2 separate regions of the Homo sapiens genome follow, and region 2 is linked to region 1. Evidence: promoter capture Hi-C in human tissues and cell types (Jung and others, 2019). All regions are on one chromosome and are shown on one strand. The core of a region is centred on a gene start or on the middle of the fragment in contact, and the rest is flanking DNA. Distances in the headings are between cores, read along the strand shown.

Region 1 (2,700 bases), core at 22-2,521:
TGTCGGGAGAGAGAAGATGTCACGGGGCACGAGGGAGAGGAAATGAAGGGGCAGGTGGAGCGGAGGAGCAGGGTCAAGATGAACTGACGGGAAAGAGGGAGAAAGAGGCTGCTGGGTGCAGTGGCTCATGCCCTTCATCCCAGCACTTTGGAGGCCAAGGCAGGAGGATCTCTTGAGCTCAGGAGCTCGAGACCAGCCTGGGCAACAGGAGACCTCATCTCTACAAATAATAAAAAAAATTAGCTGGGCACAGTGGCTCATGCCTGTGGTCCCAGCTACTCAGGAGGCAGAGGTGGGAGGATGGCTTGAGCCTAGGGATTCGAGGCTGCAGTGAGCTGTGATTGTGCCACCGTACTCCAGCCTGGGCGACAGAGTGAGACCTTGTCAAAAAAAAAAAAAAAAAGAGAAAAGGCACAGGGCAGAGTGGAAGAAATGAAACAGGAGGAGCCCCAGGTACTGGAGAGAGGGAAGATGCAGGGGTGTGATGGGGCAGCGCAGGAGACACGGACTAGGGAAAGATAGGATAAGGGGGTTCAGCGGAGAGGCAGAGGGGCTGCAGAGGGAGCATGCCGAGGAATTCCGCAGGGTGCCAGGACGCAGGGAGGAGTGGGAAGGAGGGGAGAGGAGGTCAGGGGCGCGAGTGGGAAGGCGCAGAAGCCCCTCTGGCAGAGGAGGAGGGGTGCCCAAGGGGGCCCCAGGATCAGGGACAGGCAGCCCCGGGAGGCTCAGGGTCTCTCGGAGGGGAGCGGCGGGGGCTGCGGGGAGGGCCGCCCGCACCCTACCTTCCAGGCAGCAGATCCTCCAGAGGCCCGAGTGCGTGAGGCCGCCGGGGTCCTTCTTCTCCGAGGCGCCGCCGCCCCCGCGGTGGGGGGTCCCGTCGTCGCCGCCGGCCGTGAGGTTGGTGGTGTTGCAGATGAGGGCGCGCGTGTAGAGCCAGTAGTCAGTGCTGATGGCGATGGTCATGAGGCCGAAGGCGGCGAAGGCGCCCACCGTCGTCAGCAGCACCTGCACCCCCTTCTCGCACCAGAGGCCCCGCTCTTCGTTCCAGCGCTTCAGCGACTCCAGTTTGACCACGGGCAGCCGGGGGGCCGTGGGCCACCACCGGGGCAGCGGGGGCGGGGCCGTGCCGGCGGCTGGGGGGGGGTTCACAGCGCAGGCAGAAGCGGGGGGCCCGGGGCCGGCGGGGCTGGGGAGGGGGGCGGCGAGGAGGAGGCTGCGGCCGGGGAGGGGGTCAGAGCGCGGCCATGGTCGGCGGCTGGTGGAGGGCAAGGAGCGAGATCTCGCATTAGAGGAGAAGAAGGCACAGGTACCTCCCCCAGTCCCCGCCCCCCCCCCCCCAAAATCCCTGCCTCAGCTCCAGAAACTCCTTCCACTCGGGGCTCCACTGCTTCTCTTTCTCAAAAATAATAATAATAATAATAATAATAATAATAATTAATAAATAAGATGAAATCTCTCTCCACTCTTGTCTTCTGCCCAAGAAAGTCATCCCACCATCCCACTAACCCCACTCGGAGGAGTCCCCACCACCGCTAATAATTAATAAATAAGATGAAATCTCTCTCCACTCCTGTCTTCTGCCCAAGAAAGTCGTCCCACCATCCCACTAACCCCACTCGGAGGAGTCCCCACCACCGCTAATAATTAATAAATAAGATGAAATCTCTCTCCACTCCTGTCTTCTGCCCAAGAAAGTCGTCCCACCATCCCACTAACCCCACTCGGAGGAGTCCCCACCACCGCTAATAATTAATAAATAAGATGAAATCTCTCTCCACTCCTGTCTTCTGCCCAAGAAAGTCGTCCCACCATCCCACTAACCCCACTCGGAGGAGTCCCCACCACCGCTCACACTCACAGCCCTCGCCCCTAGCCCGCGCCGCCTCCGCCCCAGGGGGCTCCACGATCCTCATCGCATGGGAAGCCACCCCCCGCCATGATGCCAAGCCCCACGCCGCCGCCTCCTCCCCAGGAGCCCCCGTCGCGTTCTTCCTTCCTTAGCGACCCCCGCCCCATCACCATGCGGCGCCCACCAGCTCTCCCCACTCTTCCCCTGCAAGCCCCACCTCTCCACCCGCTAGAACCCTTCCCTGTCAGCCCAACTTTTCCCTGAGCGTCTCCACAACTTAAGAAGCCCGAGTAGCACCACTTCCGTGGGAGTAACCTCCGCGAGCCCCCTCCGGTCTGGCTTTTGTCATTCCATCACTCCAAATGGTCCCCCACAGTTTCCTCTCCTTAGGAAAAAATAAATCTCTCAACCTCTCTTCAACTAAAAAGGAAAAATTAAAAGAAGAAGAAAAAGAAAAAGAAAATCCCAGCTGACCCTCACAGTTTGTGCAACTCGGAATCACCAGCCACCCTCAGTCAGCCTCCTCTCCCTGGAAGCCCCCTTCCTGCCTCGGGCAGCCTCCAACACACCTGGAAATCACCCGAGGACCTTAAAAATTCGGATGTTTGAGTCCCACCTGAGAAAGTCCGACATGGTTGGTCTGCAGTGTGGCCTGCGCATGTAAGTTTTTAAAAGCTCCCTGGGGAATTCTAATGCACCCAACATCAGACCCACTGGTTTGCAAGCTGCCCCCCCCCCGCCATCTCCAGCCCATTCCCTGTCACAGCCCCCACTGTCTCCCCACAAGCCACTCACTCCCCACCCCATACTATGCCTTTACTCCAGGAAAACCCCCACCCTCTCTTTTGCTT
Region 2 (2,714 bases), core at 154-2,653, 54 kb after region 1:
CCGACCCCTGCAAGATTTTTCCCCAAGCCACGCAATCCCGTGATTTGGGGGTCTCAACTTGGGACCCTTAGCCTTTATCAACCAGAGACCTCTACATCCCTGAATACCCGGGATCTTTTTAACTATGAAGGTTGAGACCCCTCAACATTCTCCCCTACAAACTAATCAAGACATAAAACTCCACTTTCCTTCACCAGAATTCTTCTAACCTTGCAACTCTGCTCCACCTGAATAAAGACTCTGGAGTCTGAGACAACCCTCACTCCTCCCCGCTCCACCCCGCACTCCCAGCCTCCAGATCCCCCCTCCTTCCCCCCCAACCTCTTGGAGGCCTCCGAGATCCGGAGTCAGGGAACGCTCTGGCCAGCTTTTCCTCCCATCCCCCGCCTGGCGGCTCAGGGGTTTGACCGCGAGCTGCCTGGTCCCCTCGCAGCCCTGTGGGCTCGGAAACGGGCACCATCACCCTGGCCACCCTGGCTGCCTCCATCCCAGGTAGCCGATCTCAGCTTCCCCCTTTCGCCCCTCTGACTCTCAGCTGGGACCTCGTCCCTTCTCCACATTCTCGCACCCCGTTTTAAAACCCAACCTTGCTCCAATTCCTCCTCCCTCTCACTGGCCCGCCCAGATCTCCTTATTCCTCCAGCCTTTCCTCCTTTGGGACCCTCCCCCCAGGCCTGAAGCCTCCTCTTCTCCCTCTTTCTCCCACCCTTTCCCGGATTCAGGCATTTGAATCTCCGGGGTCCCCTTCTGCAAGTCTTAAGCCCAAACTCCATCTCTCCTCCATCTCTCGGGAGACCGTAACTCCCCCTTTCTGGGACCCCTTTCCAGACCCACATCCTGCTCTGGCCGGGCCTGGGTCCTCCGCCCTCGCCCCGTACCTCGCCTTCCTCAGGGACCCGGCCTCTGCCCTCCCCAGCCCACGCTCGCTGCGACTCGGACGCGAGGAGTGCAGTTTCCCACTCCGGGACCCTCGGACCCCGTCCTCCGGGATCGCCAGGCCCAGGTGTCCCTGCATCCCCCATAGCCGCTCGAATTCGGGCGTCCCGACCGCCAGGATCTCACCACCCCTGGAGCCACTCGGGTCCCTTGTTGCCCCAAACCCGGCTCGCAGCCACCTCGAGGGGCGCCCCTTCTTCCTCCCAGGACCCTCCGCTAGCGCTCACCTCGCTCAGGGCTGGGCGGACGCTCCGGGCCGCGGGCCCCGCAGCCGCATGACCGGCCCCGAGGCTTCCCCCGGCCGCCGCCGCCGCCACCGGGGTCGCCGGTGCCCGCGCCCCCCGCCCCCGCCCCGGAGCCCGGCGTCCCGGCCCCCTCCCGGCCTCCCACCCCCCACCCCCCGCGGCCGCGGCCTCACTCGGCGGACGGAGCCGGGAGCAGGAACCGGCGGCCGCTCATTGGCTACTGCGGAGGAGGGGAGGGGCGGGGAGGGAAGGGGGGAAGGATGCAGCGAGGGAGGGAGATGGGCCTTGAGGATGGGGGAGGCAGAGAGGGAGAGAGAATAGAAACAGAGGCAGAGAGCCCGAGAGGGGCAGAGGCACAAAGAGAGACAGGGCAGAGAGAGAAAGTCACGCCGAGACCTTGAGGCCGAGAAATCCAGGGACTCAGGTCTGGAGACTGAAGGAGACACAGAGACAGAGAGAGACAAAGAGGGAGAGAGACAGAGTTTAAGACCACCCCTCACCACCTAGGCGCAGAGATTCTGAGGCCTGGGAAGTGGAGAGGTCAGAGACCAGGAAGAGACAGAAAGAGACAGGGGGACGCCCAGAGGCCTGGGGCTGAGAGATGCTGAGACCCAGAGACCTTGAGCTTGGAGAAGAGACAGAGACAGAGGCAGAGAGAGAGAGACAGAGAGACAGAGAGAGACAGAGAGAGACTCTGAGAAGGAGAGACAGCAGGGACAATCCTGGGGGTCCCCTGACGAGGACTGGGGCTCTAGCCAGGCCTGGGGCGGAGCCTGGGGTCTGGACGGCTGCAGGAAGCGGGAGGGGGCGTCCCGGGCCGGGGTCCCTACAGCAGCGGGCGGGCGCAGAGCGGAGTCGGGTCCTGCAGCCGCCGCGGAGCCAGGAGCCGGGCCACCCCCCCCCCCCGCCGTGATGTCAGCGGGGCCACTCTTAAAGGGGCAGGCCGCCCGCCGAGGGTCGGAGCGGGGGCTGGGGCCTGCGGGCACTGGATGGGGGTGTCGCGGCGGTGATGAGGGAGAGAGGGGCAGCCCCAGCATCCACCCGGACCGGGTCATGGAAACCCAGGAGACTGCAGGGAAGAAGACGTGCCCGGGTCCGCAAGGAAGACTGCGAAGCTTTGGGGCTCAGTCCCCTCCAAACACACAGACAAGGCACACCGCTCCACTGGTCTGGCCCTGACCGGAGACTACATTTCCCATCAGCCCTGGCGGCAAGGAGCCGCACTTGGGGGAAGGGTCTGCCGCGAGGCCTGCGGGGAAATGTAGTCCATCTGCACGGTCCCCGGCACTCCCCAGACTCTCAAGTGGGTCAAGGGAAAGAGGCCCAGAAGGCGCGTCTGCCTGCCGTGTGCCTCCGTCGCCGATTCCTAGGCTCTCGGGTTCTGGCTGTTTTTGGTTGCTCTGGCGTGGGGGTCTCTTCCTCTGATCAGGTCTCTAGGTCTCTCAAGAAGAGGCCAGACTGTGATCTCCCCGCTTGGGAAGGACTTCTCCCCGGTGTCTGAGCCTGGGGGTGCATGTGAGCTTGCGTGGCTGC

The links. Contacts are between HindIII fragments. The study calls those that stand out against the background at their distance.
Region 2: a contact is called between the fragment with the promoter of CACNG7 here and the fragment with the promoter of CACNG8 in region 1, in 1 of the 25 tissues and cell types used here (dorsolateral prefrontal cortex).

The regions. Positions count from the first base shown.
Region 1 is chr19:53,961,508-53,964,207 of GRCh38, reverse strand. CACNG8 (calcium voltage-gated channel auxiliary subunit gamma 8) reads right to left here and starts at 1,271. Exons shown (of 4, transcript NM_031895.6): 1 at 783-1,271. The coding sequence starts at 1,065. RefSeq lists an enhancer at 1,910-2,430. The HindIII fragment of the contact is 7,710 bases long and covers 1-2,700 here.
Region 2 is chr19:53,907,967-53,910,680 of GRCh38, reverse strand. CACNG7 (calcium voltage-gated channel auxiliary subunit gamma 7) reads right to left here and starts at 1,403. Exons shown (of 6, transcript NM_031896.5): 1 at 1,164-1,403. The HindIII fragment of the contact is 9,573 bases long and covers 1-2,651 here.